Linked DNA regions of Homo sapiens: region 2 is linked to region 1. The links are contacts of gene promoters, found by promoter capture Hi-C in blood cells and fetal thymus (Javierre and others, 2016). All regions are on one chromosome and are shown on one strand. The core of a region is centred on a gene start or on the middle of the fragment in contact, and the rest is flanking DNA. Distances in the headings are between cores, read along the strand shown.

Evidence for each region. The method cuts DNA at HindIII sites, captures the fragments that hold promoters and counts their contacts. A CHiCAGO score of 5 or more calls a contact.
Region 2: the fragment with the promoter of FHIT here is called in contact with the fragment with the promoter of CCDC66 in region 1 in 1 of 17 cell types (total B cells); the score reaches 6.3 in total B cells.

Annotation. Positions count from the first base shown.
Region 1 is chr3:56,553,770-56,560,595 of GRCh38, forward strand. CCDC66 (coiled-coil domain containing 66) reads left to right here and starts at 3,406. Exons shown (of 18, transcript NM_001141947.3): 1 at 3,406-3,484; 2 at 5,077-5,141; 3 at 5,800-5,825. The coding sequence starts at 3,474. RefSeq lists enhancers at 2,849-3,521, 3,522-4,193, 3,662-3,821. The HindIII fragment of the contact is 1,896 bases long and covers 3,192-5,087 here.
Region 2 is chr3:61,246,538-61,252,715 of GRCh38, forward strand. FHIT (fragile histidine triad diadenosine triphosphatase) reads right to left here and starts at 4,915. Exons shown (of 10, transcript NM_002012.4): 1 at 4,764-4,915. LOC124909387 (a long non-coding RNA gene) reads left to right here and starts at 5,055. Exons shown (of 2, transcript XR_007095939.1): 1 at 5,055-5,090. RefSeq lists enhancers at 3,504-3,783, 4,064-4,193, 4,334-4,463, 4,594-4,653, 4,718-5,012. The HindIII fragment of the contact is 4,935 bases long and covers 1,300-6,178 here.

The DNA of each region.
Region 1 (6,826 bases), core at 2,156-4,655:
TAAAAAAAAGTTATCATCAAACCCAAAGTCATCTAGATTTTCTCCTATGTTTTCTTCTAGGAGTTATACAGTTCTGCATTTTACATTTAGGACTCTGTTCTATATTGAGTTCATTTTTGTGAAGAATGCAAGGTTTGGGTCAGACTAATATTTTTGCATGTGGATATCCAATTGTTCCAGCACCATTTGTTGAAAGATAATCTTTTCTCCTTTGTTTTGGCTTTACTCCTTTGTCAAAGACCGGTTGACTATTTATGTGGGTCTATTTCTAGGCACTCTGTTTTATTATTTATCTATTTGTTTATTCTTTCACTAATACTACACTGTTTTAATTACTGTAGCTTTATAGTAAGTCTTGATGTCGGGTAGTGTCAGTCTTCTGACTTTGTTCATCTTCAATATTGTTTTCGCTGTTCTGGGTCTTTTGTCTCTCCATATAAACTTTAGATTCGGTTTGTTGATATCCACAAAATAACTTGCTGGGATTTTGATTGGCATAGTGTTGAATCTATAGATCAAGTTGGGAAGAACTGACACCTTGACAATATTGAGTCTTCCAATCTATAAACACAGAATATCTCTCCATTTATTTAGTTCTTTGATTTCTTTCATCAGAGTTTTGTAATTTTCCTCATATAGATTTTATACATATATTGTTAGATCTATACCTAAGCATTTGATTTGATGGGATGCTAATGTGAATAGTATTGTTTGTTTGTTTGTTTGTTTTTGTGACGGAGTCTCTCTCTGTTGCCCAGGCTGGAGTGCAGTGGTGCGATCTCGGCTCACTGCAAGCTCCACCTCCTGGGTTCAGGCCATTCTCCCGCCTCAGCCTCCTGAGTAGCTGGGACTACAGGCGTCTGCAACCACACGCAGCTAATTTTTTGTATTTTTAGTAGAGACGGGGTTTCACCGTGTTAGCCAGGACAGTCTCGATCTCCTGACCTCGTGATCCGCCCGCCTCAGCCTCCCAAAGTGCTGGGATTATAGGCGTGAGCCACCGCGCCTGGGCAGTATCGTGTTTTTATTTTCAGCTTCTATTTGTTCATTGCTGACATACAGGAAAGCAATTGGCTTTTGTGTATTAACCTTGCATTCTGCAATGCCACTATACTCACTTATTAATTCCAGGAGGATTTTTTGTGGCTTCTTTCAGATTTTCTACATAGACAATCATGTCATCTGCAAACAAAGTTTTCTTTCTTTCTTCCCAGTCTGTATACTTATTTCTTTTTCTTGTCTTAGCTAGGACTAAGGCTAAGTCTTAGGATTAGCTCAGACTTCCAGTGTGATGTTGAAAAGCAGTGATAAGAAGAGACATTCTTGCCTTGCTCTTGTTCCCAATCTCAGTGGAAAAGTTGCACTTTTTCACTGTTAAGTGTGATATTGGGCTCTACAGGATTTTTTTAAAAAATAGAGATAGAGTCTCACCATGTTGCCCAGGCTGGTCTCGAACTCCTACACTCAAGCAATCCTCCTGCCTTGGCCTTCCAAAGTGCTGCAATTACAGGCATAAGCCACCACACCCGGTCTCTAGGAGATTTTTTGTAGATATTGCTTATCAAGTTAAGGACGTTCTCCTATATTGAGAGATTTTAAGAAGCAGAGTGAATTAAGCAGATTCACATTTTAGAAATCATTCTGGCTACAGGCTCACGCCTATAATCCCAGCACTTTGGGAGTCTGAGGTGGGAGGACTACTTGAGGCCAGGAGTTTGAGACCAGCCTGGGCAACGTAAACAGACTCTGTCTCTACAAAAATTTTTTTAAAAATTAACCAGGCGTAGTGGTGCATGCCTGTAGCCCTAGCTACTTGGGAGGCTGAGACAGGAGGATCATTTAAGACCAGGAGTTCGAGGTTACAGTGTTATGTTCGTACCAATGTAGGCGGCCTGGGTGACAGAGCAAAACCCTGTCTCTAAAAAAAAAAAAAAAAGAAAGAAAAGAAAAAGAAAAAGCAAGTGTTGGGGTGAAGAAATTAGAACCTCATATACATTGCTGGCAGAAATGTAAGATGCTGCAACTGTTATGAAAACAGTTTGGCAGTTTCTCGAAAAGTTAACCATAGAATTACCATGTGACCCAGTAATTCCACTCTTAGGTGTATACCAAGAAAATTGAAAATAGGGATTCAAACAGATACTTGTACATCAGTGTTCACTACAGCATTATTCACAATAACTAAAAGATGGAAACAACCCAAATGTCTATTAATGGATGAATGAGTAAACGAATTGTGGTATATATATACATAGAATGGAATACTATTCAATCATAAACAGATATGAAGCTCTGATACATCCTACAACATGGATGCACCTTGAATACATTATGTTACTTGAGAGAAGACACAAAAGGACAAATATTGTATGATTCCACTTTTATGACATGAAGTATCTATAATAGGCAAATTCCTAGAGACAGAAATAAGATTAGAGGTTTCTTAGGATTGAGGGGAGAGGAAAATGGGAAGTTGTTGCTTAATGGGTACAGAATTTTTATTTGGGGGTACTAAAAAGCTTTTGGAAAAATATACTGGCGTATTCCACAACATTGTATCATGGAATTGTCACTTGAAAATGGCTAAAAATAGCAAATTTTAACACACATATTACAACAATAAAAAATAAAAAAGTAAAGGTTTGTCAGGCATTTAATAATTAATACCTTTCATTGTTTTTGTCTGGAAAGAGTGTGTGCAAAGATACTTAACAACCAAATGTAATGTGTGATCCTTGATCGGCTCTTGCATTTTTTTTTTTTTTTTTTGAGACGGAGTCTCACTCTGTCGCCCAAGCTGCTGGAATGCAGTGGCGCGATTGGCTCTTGCTTTCTAAATAAAATGCCTATAAGATATTCTTAGGACAAGTGGGGGAAATTAAATCGGGAAGAGAATTATTATGAAATTAATGATCTTAGGTATAATAATTGTACTGCGGTTATGTAGCAGAACATCTATTCTTAGGAGATACATGCTGCAATGTTAAAGGGTTAAGTGTTACAATGTCTGCAATGTTAAAGGGTTAAGTGTTACAATGTCTGTAACTTACTTGCAAATGGTGACCCCAAAAAGGTGTGTGTGTGTGTGTGTGTGTGTGTGTGTGTGTGTGTGTGTGTGTGTGTGTGTGTGTGTGTCTGTGTACGCGCTTTGGAAGGCTACAATTGCGAGAAGCGCAGGTCTCCGCCACCGAAGCTTTAGACTCATAAGCCGGGTCAGGCCAAATTCCGCTGTGCGTAGGGGAACAAACGGCACAAACGGGGCACAAAAGGGGAACAAACGGCATACGCAACCGTCCCCGCGGGAGCCCCGGCCCAGCTCAGCGCACCCGCCAGCATGCCCCACCCTGATTGGTCCACTTGCTCAGCTCGCCGGCACCCCTATATCCAATTGGCGTAGCGCTTGCTGAGCGGCGGCGGCAACCGACGTACACAAGGGGCTTGAGCGTTCTGTGGAGAGAGTGCGAGGTCAGGCCATGAACTTGGGGTAAGCAGGGGTAAGCTGGGGTAAGCTGGGGTAAGCAAGGTGGTCGTCAGCGGAGAGGGAGGCATGTGTGTCTGGGTTGTCCCTTGGAGTCTTTACTGGAGAACGTTCCCAACCTGCGCCGCCGAGAGGGGCAGAGCCCAGTTCTCGGGTAGAAGATCGAGGCAGATGGGTCGGCCCTTAGCGACTCCACAGACCTTACGTTTTCACTTAATGACTAGCATTAAAACTGCCAGTGATCCCCTTTCGGTCCCTTATTTACCTCAGGATGAGGAGGGAAGAGAGGTGAGGAGGAAAGGAGAGAAATGACGAGACAGTTAGAGGAAGCGTGGCGGCTCCTGGGGAGGACTCCTGGCCCATGCCCCGGGTTCTTCGCCACCTTGTTTTTGGAGTCTTGCAGAATGTTGAAACGCCCAAATTCGTTTTAGGCCCACGAGGCGGGGAACCAGGCTTCTCAAGAAATCGATGTAGTACCAGTGCCTAACACCTAGTAGGCGCTCCTTAAGTAGGGGTGAATAAATAAAAAGGGCTGGTGCATGGTCTTCATCACTCGCAAGTTTGATATTTTGAGAAGATGAGAAGCCACCAAACTCAGACCTAACTACACATCGTTCAGCAAATGTTATTATGTTTTAGAATCTGGGGATATGGAAATAAATAAGATAGTGTGTCCCTTAAGGAGATTACAGTGCAGTGCGTCATTGAAGGTACTTTACCATTGAAGCTCTTTTCTTTCTTGGTGACGTTTCACCAACATAAACACGAACTGTTCATAACCCTACAATAAGGAAAGCCGTAAAACCTATTCTTTCCAGTGTTTTACCTTTAATAGTTAAGGTGAGGTAATTTGATTTCCCCTACCTGAGCAACACCGCAAATTTCGCATTCCTAATCAGACCTTTCCCAGCCTCTCTCTCCCTTGACTGGCTTGCTGGATTTAATTTTCTCTCTCTGAATTATGGACTGTATGTATGGGCTGCCATTTTTGTTCTCAGTGGAGTTTTAGGACCTTAACAGACGTTCAAGTTTTGTTGGCAGTGGCTACTGTTACTTTATGCCTTTGCTTCTGATATGCACGTATAAAGCACCATACTAAATATCACTATGTATTATTTGAAATATTGAAAGTGGTACTCTTTGCTCAAGCAGTTACTAACCTTGATGGCATTGTTAGTAGTCATATCGATGCTCCAGCACTCCATAGAATGTTTTAGTCATGAGTTCATTATGAAACTAATGAATGGCGGTTAAATATATCTTGTTCCTTTAACTTATGTGAGGAGTTTTGGTAACAGCATTATTAAAAAATGGTGGTATGATAACTTAATTTATAGTTTACCAATAACAAAATGAGATTTCAGGTTAATGATAACAATGCTTGTAGTATTGAAGAGTTTCAAGAATTTTCCCCCTGTAGTTGTGGGTTTTATCTTGGATTGCAAACGTTTTTAATTAAAACACTGGTTCGATGTGTACAAGATTCCTGCATAAATTCAAAATAATGGATTTATTGTCAGGTTCAAATGAACATTTCTGGTTATTTAAAATGTTGCGGTTTGTTAAAAATGAGAGACAACTTTCTTTTTTTATTACAGAGATGGTTTAAAGCTTGAAACTGAATTACTGGATGGAAAAACCAAGCTAATATTGTCTCCATATGGTATGTTGTGTTACAGAAATCTGAAATGTTAACTTTTAAATTCATACATAAAATTTATATTAGTTCAACAGACTTTTTGCTTGTAATAGAGTGATATTTAAATGATATTTTAGAAAAAGCTGTTTCCTCAAACTTCTGCAGATTTCCTTCTAGCCAAATAAAATCAGATTACAACACTGCTTACTACTGTCAGTATTCAGACTCATAACATTTAATGTTCCAGTATATTGCGTGTTCATTATATCCATATAGCAAATATCCTCATTGCCTGATGAATAATACAAGTAAAATTTATGTAATTATGTTCTTTGCATGTAAAGAATGTATCATTTGAGAAAAGTTTATAGTAAGACCACCGTAAAATGCTAAAGTCACTTTTAGTATTCGTTTTTAAACTCAGTGTACTTTGGTACCTTCTCCTTCGCATTTTTTTTTCTGTTTATAGTTTTACCTTGGAAAGATAAAAAACAAAAATAAAATAGAAGTAAATCCTTGAACTGGATTAGAAAAAAATACTCAGTCAAGATCTAAAGTTTATGCTTTCGAGGATAATGTTGCTAGCTTAAAATCTTATAACAATATTAATTACAGTTTTCTTGCATTACCACCTTAGTATGCTTTTGGTGGATAGTTTAGTAATTTCTTTTTTCTTTTGTAGAACATAAATCAAAAATTTCTGTGAAGGTAAGCCGTATAACTTTGACCTGACCTGTTTTCAAATGTAAAATGCAGTTTTATTTATAGTGGTTAGAAAATAATTCCTGGGAAATGTCAAGTGTTCTAAGGGGTTTGGAATTATAGTGAGGAGTTATTATTTTCTTGCTTTCAGATTGGTCCTTTCACAGAAATTGAATCATTTTAGGTTTAGCCCAATAGAACCTCTTTCTCTAGATAAGTGCTATTCAGTAAAGCATCTGTGTTAATGGAAGTGTTCATTAATAAAATCAGTATTATTGAATATGGAAGCCACTAGTCATGTATAGTTATTGAACCCTTAAAATGTAACTAGTATGACTGAGCAACTGAATTTCTAATTTCCTTTAATTTTTAATGGAATTTAATGGATAATGGATTGTACTGGACAATGCACTCCAGAGATCTTTAAAAATAGATATTCAGACTTTAAACAGAAATGTTTTTTCTTTTCATACTCAAATTCCATTTGCCCACACCAAAGGGGAAATTTAATTCACAAATTGTAGCATGCATTTAGCATTTTCCTTTAAAAGGTTGCACTTGAGCTTAAGGGTAATTTTCCTTTTAAATTATTTTCCCTTATCAGAAATCTATTGTGCTTTTTTCTACAAAATACATTATCACTTTGTTTATTTTAATTTTTGAGGCAGAGTCTCACTCTTGTCACCCAGGTTGGAGTGTAGTGGCATAATCATGGCTGCAGATCTTCCTCCTCCAGCCTCCTGAGTAGCTGGGACCGTGTGCATGAGCCACCATGCCCAGCTAATTTTTTTTATTTTTAGTAGAGATGGGATCTCACTATGTTGCATAGGCTGGAATTACCATTTAAAAAATTTTTTTGAGGTTGGGCATGGTGGCTCATGCCTGTAATCCCAGCACTTTGGGAGGCCAAGGTGGGTGGATCACCTGAGGTCAGGAGTTCAAGGCCAGCCTGGCCAACATGGTGAAACCCCATCTTTATGAAAAATACAAAAATTAGATGTGGTGGC
Region 2 (6,178 bases), core at 3,665-6,164, 4.7 Mb after region 1:
AACCGGACTCTGCATAGTATTACTCAGGCTCACCATTCTCAGCAAACTAACACAGGAACAGAAAAGCAAACACCACACGTTCTCACTCATAAGTGGGAGTTGAACAATGAGAACGCATGGACACAGGGAGGGGAACATCACACACCGGGGCCTGTTGTGGGGTAGAGGGGGAAGGGGAGGGAGAGCATTAGGACAAATACCTAATGCATGCAGGGCTTAAAACCTAGATGACAGATTGACAGGTGCAGCAAACCACCACGGCACATGTATACCTATTAACAAACCTGTACATTCTGTACATGTATCCCAGAACTTAAAGTAAAATTTTAAAAAAATTTAAAAAAAGAAAAACATATCTATTACTCAGGCTCACCTCTGCAGCCTTATTCTCTCCACCTCCTCCAGCCATTGATTTTCATACCCTAAGCACACAGACCTTCTTTCTGCTCATCAAATCCCAACATCCCCTCCCTCCCTCCCTCCTGTCCTCCATTGTACTAGGTTCTTCCCTGCCGAGAATATACCCTCACTCACCCCATCAGTGCCTCCCTACCAGCCCCATTTACTGCTCTCACCAGAGCAGATGCAGTGCCTGGAACAGAGCTAGGAGCAAGATAAATGTGCTGAATAAAAATATGTTTAGGATACTGAGGGCCTCCGCTGTTTCCTTTGTCCTTCTCCTCTGCTGTTGCTGTGATCCTCATTCCTGTTGCTCCTTCCCTGTTCCCTGCATCACTTCTTTTCAGTAACTCACCTCCTTATCGTAACCTCATGGCTATTGAAGTTGTCAGCTTTAGAAAGAAGCACTGCCACATCCCCACGGTCATTGCCCCAGGATTACTCACCAGCTGGATGACAACTGCCTCACTCTAACCCTGAGCCTCCTGGGATAGGACCAATCCTTTCTAGAGATGGACAGAAGGCCCCACTGACAGAAACAGGCTGCTTTTAAATCAAGGATTTAATATATAGGTGGAACCATAGATCAGGGGCCTCTCAGCAGGCAGTACCGAGCCAAAAGCTTCACTGTCTCTCTGCCCACACAAGAGAGTGTCACTGTGCTGACAAGACAGGTTATCAAGAGTTGTGAGGAACTTCATATTTTAAATGTGATGACCAAGTGTGCTACTCTAAGAAAACAAGTGGCAAACAAATCCTTTTATAATATAAATACCTGCTTAAAGTTTTAAATCTTGAGGAAATGTGAATTTTCATATATCAGGCTTACAATAACAAAAATAAGAGCTATTATATTTATCTATTGACTGCAAGCTGTTAAGAGCCTGACAACATGCTCAAAGCTTTAAACACACTTTCTTCTTCATCATCACTGTGAGGTAGAAATGCTTATTATCCCTATTTTAAGAGAGAAAACCAAGGGCTAAGTAACCTGTCTAAAAGGCACAGCTGGGAATTAAATCATGGGTCCCCAGACAACCCCTCTACTGCTTCTCTGCTATGTCTTACTATATAGATCACTTTCTCATCTGAGAAGTCACAGATATGGACATTCCCAAAGAGACAACCCCTTGGAGAATGATCTCAAAGGCTGAGATTTTTCTCTGCAATGTACATGTTGAAAGCAAAGTAACCTCCTACATCTTATATTTCAAAGCTGCACTTCTGCATTAAAAGAGTAAACAGATTCAATGAAGAGATGTGGGAACAGGGTGCTTATGAATGCAATGCCACAAGTACTTTTTCAGTGTCTACTGGTGGTCAGGCACTGTGGTGGAAGCTGAATGATCAGACTATCAGTTGGGAGAGCGTGGGGGTGGGGGCATGGGGGTGATGAGGAGAACTTCTCAAATAGACTGTTTCAGGAATGTTTAGCCAATAATTCATAAAACTGTTACTTTATTACCTAACTATATGGAAATCATCTTTCAGAAGAGACCAGAGTTACCTGCCTTATTATCTGTGAATACATAATTGAAAGGGCCAATATGTCTTCCAAAATGAAAGTCACAACTTGATAGATTTCTGAGAGTTCATATTAGAGGGTCAGATTTTAACATGTGAATGCAAACATAGTGTCAGAATTTGTTCTCAAGTGTCTGAAAGAACAAAAGAGAAAAGAGTAATGGGAGCCAAAACCAGACTAACTTCCAAAATAGAAACAGAGCATGTTGAAGTTGCATAAACACACAAATAAAGATGGGGACACAAAAACATTTCCTAAAGCATTCTATCAAAGGCTGCAGGAAAAAGGCCAAGACAAGGATACCAAATAGAAAAGCATAAGCCTAAAAAGGTTATCCACACTACTGTGAGGACTCCAGAAACCTGCCTTCTTGCAGAAACGGGATACTTTTGACATGAGGGCATGAGATGAAGATTGCAGACTACTTCGTAACACACTCTCCTCATTTATAAAATAAGAGTTAGATTAGATTATTTATAAGGTCCTTCCAGTCTGAATGCATTAAGTCCTTATCATCTATGTGGTCCTTGCACCTTAAGAGAGATGACCATATAAAGAAGCTCAAAAAACATTTGTTGAATTCATGAAGTATTACAACCTTACCAATAATAAATAAGATAATTTATAACAATTGGTCCTGGTCTGTGGCCTTGAAAGAGCAAATTAGAGGAGAAACCATTATCTAAAGAGCTACACATCTGGTGTTCCTGCTAGCTGACTGCTGGTGGAATGAAAATAACCCTGGACTTGAAAATAAGATGCTTGGTTCTAGTCTAATCTCTGACACAAACCAACTGTGTGACCTTGGGCAAACTGCTTTACCACCTGGGCCAGTTTCCTAATCTCTAAAATAAAGGTATTCTAAAACTATATACATATATATATGGAATCTTTATTATAGGCCAAGAAGTGTTCCAAGATCTTTGCATTAGAATTAAATGATCTCAAAGGTTTTTGCAGCTCAAATGTTTAGTATCTAAGTACAGAGGCAGCATGGTATAATTAAAAGATTCCAAATTCTGTAGCCAGAAAGGTTGGACTCCTCCTCAGCTCTGTAAGGTAAGGTCTTTCTCTAAGCAGAGACTGTTAAGCAGAAGGGCTTACAGTCTCAGTCCTTTTATTCACCAGTGTTTTAACTTGAACAAGTTACTTAACTTTCCTAGCCTTAGTTTTCTAATCTGTAAAGTTGATATAAAAATGGTTCTCACTCTCATATAGCTTTTAAGAGGATTAAATTATAACACATATATTTTATTGAATATATATTATATTGCTAGCTGTGTAATCATGGGCTATCTTCTCAAGTTTTTTCTCATATACAAATGGGAAATGTAGTATTAAAAAGAGATCATGTGAACAGGTTCTAAATGGTCAAGTGTTAGTGGTTTTGGAAGCATGTACGTTAATACTTGGAACACCGTATACAACAATCCCATATCTAACACTTAGAACAGCATATGCAATCAATAACAACACACACACACACACACACACACACACACACACACACACACACACACACACACACAAACCCTAGACTTCTTTCTTTACTAAATATTTCTAGTCCAGGTTGCAGCAGGTGGACACAGGCCGGCAGCCATGAACGCAGGTCCACATGGGAGTTGTAGTTCCGAGTCAAGCGGCTGCTCTACAGAACGGCTAGAAGCGAGACTTCGTCTCCCAGGAGACATCTCGCCGTGCAAAATGGCACGCCACGAGGTGGAGTACCTGCCCGACGAGAAACAAGAGGCGGGACTGCAACTCCCAGAAGCCTCCGCGGCCAAGGCCTCAGGCCGCAGGCTGAAGCCAAGGAGGGAGAGTTCAGGTAGATCCGGCTTAACATCAGGTGCGAGTAGGGACCACCCTTGGTAGTCTGGGCCCGGCCCAGGTCAGAACCTTACTAAAACAACCACTGTGAGTATTTTCTATTGGTCCCAGCACATTTCTGAGAGACCAGAATAATAATAGCAGTAAATCTGCAAGTGGTAAACTTTCACAAGCATAACCTCAATTTAGATTTCGGCTTCAGGCAACATCCTTTGGCCACTTGACCTGGGAGCATTGAGCTCCTTGTTTCCCAGATAAGCGCTGTGAGTGGCTGTTCCAAGGTAACACAGCGAGGGCAGAATGTGAGCCTACAGAGAAATCTGCAGATGCATCTCAAGTTCCACTAACCTGCCTCCTTACCCCCCACCACCACCAACTTGGATATACCTTTAAAATTCCCCCCTTTGACGCTAAAAATAAAAACAACAACCATAAAATAAGTGTAAGAAAGTCCGACCAAGTACCGATGAGTTCTCCCACAACAATAAATTCGATGCCTCTTTGCCTGTTTTTGAAGTAGTAATGTAAAATTATCTCCCAAAATGCTGCCTTCTCTATACTCCGGTTTGCTCCTGTCCTGGGCACGTGTTCAGCAACCCCTTAGGGGAATCCAGAGCTGCGTGTTTAACACAGACCTGTTGGGACGGATTTTCGCTACTTGTCTATGAAACTGACGAACCATCCCAAAACGGCGGGTGCCGACTACACCCCCAGAGCCAAGAGCTGTGGCGTCCCCGGACCCGCTGGCGTGGCCCCGTGCCTCAGTTTCCCCAATGTATAAACACGGTGGAGGAGGAACGGGTTAGGGCTAGGGTCGGTGCTTGGGAATTGGGGGGCCCGAGTCCCCACCCTGAGACCCTCGTGGGGCGGAAGAGTACTCGGGACAGAAGCCCACCGCCCCGTGAGCGGCGCCGGCCCCACTGGGCTCCGGGGTGATGACCTGACGCGCGTGGAAACCCAGACCCGCGCCCCAGAAACAGTATTCCACTTGGGCTTGCCTCCCCGCCCCTACCTTCCAGGATGTTGACAGCTGGGAATGAAAGGCAGAGGGAGGGAGCGCGGGGCCGGAGCGCCGCCTGGGAGTGTGCCCACTGGGTGGCCGCCTGAGGGACCCGGGAACAGAGGGCAAAAAGTCCTGTGACCGGACAGAGCAGAGCGGGGACTGCAATTCCCAGAAGACCCCACGGTAGGGGCGGGACCCAAGATGGCCGCTTGTCTGGGGACAGGAGCGGAGGCCAATACGCGCAGAGCATGCGCCTACGCCGGGCCAATTGAAAGCCATAGTGACAGTAACCCTGATTCAGGGGCGGGAAACACTGACCACAGAAGACAAGTTGAGGTGAGAATCCCCTTACAAGGGGGTTTGGGGCATAAATCGCACAATCTTTGGCTTTTTCTAACTAGAAAAAGAAACATGATTCTTTTCACGTGTAACGAAAGGCTGTACCGCACTTTTGCTTTTTTCTTTCCTCCCAAAACGCGTTTAACTATCCCTTCACGACTTCCCACTGGCTGGATTTCTTTTCGTTTCATTTCCCCACTCTGGATCTTTCTGGATTCCTTAAGCCTTCTTTTCTTTATGTGTCTCTCAGAAACACAGACTTGCAGTCCCTGGCTTGATCCATCAAATAATGTGGTCATTTACGACTACGCTCAGCCCTCCCTGGCATCCTAACAAAATTGCACCACATGCGCCCCTTCTCTTTTCCTTTCTGTCTTTTCTGTGCTGTTTTTCTCCTTAGCATTTGTCGTTACGAAGCATTGTATAAAATTTACGTATTTATCTTTTTTACCATCTTACTTTCTCACTAGAATGCAAGATCCCTGCAGATGTGGATTTTTGTTTTGGTCACTGTAGTCTTTCTAGCACCTAGAAAAGTGCCCAGCACATAGTAAATACACCGTATTTTCAATAATTGAACGAAATCTAGAGTGACCTTTCTCCCCTAGTCTCCCTTTCTCTGGTGCAGATCAACCCGTTTCTGACCACCATGGTTCCTTGTGCTTGTTCCCCTGTTTAATCCAAAATCATTATTGATGTATTCTGTGCCAAATGCCATGTGGGTGCTGGAGAAATCATTGATTCAGACCCAATTCCTAACCTCAAAATGCTCTGTCTAGTGACGTATGAAAAGTAAAATTAATTTTACAATAAATGCAATTACAAATTGCAGAACACCTACGTAATTTTCACAAGGTCATGCAGCTCCTAAGCAAGGACTAGATTCCTGGCTGCAGACTCTTGCCATTACATCGGGAAAAACAAAGAGCAGTTTTCTCTCAGACAAACACTAAGATAGGTCCCCATTTTCCTTAGCACCATTTCCTTTCTCTGTCTCTCACTTTTTTATTTGGCCTGATTCATTACATGCAGGCAATTACATCAAGTCTTAGATCTCTCATTATTTCTAATATTTGAATCCCATG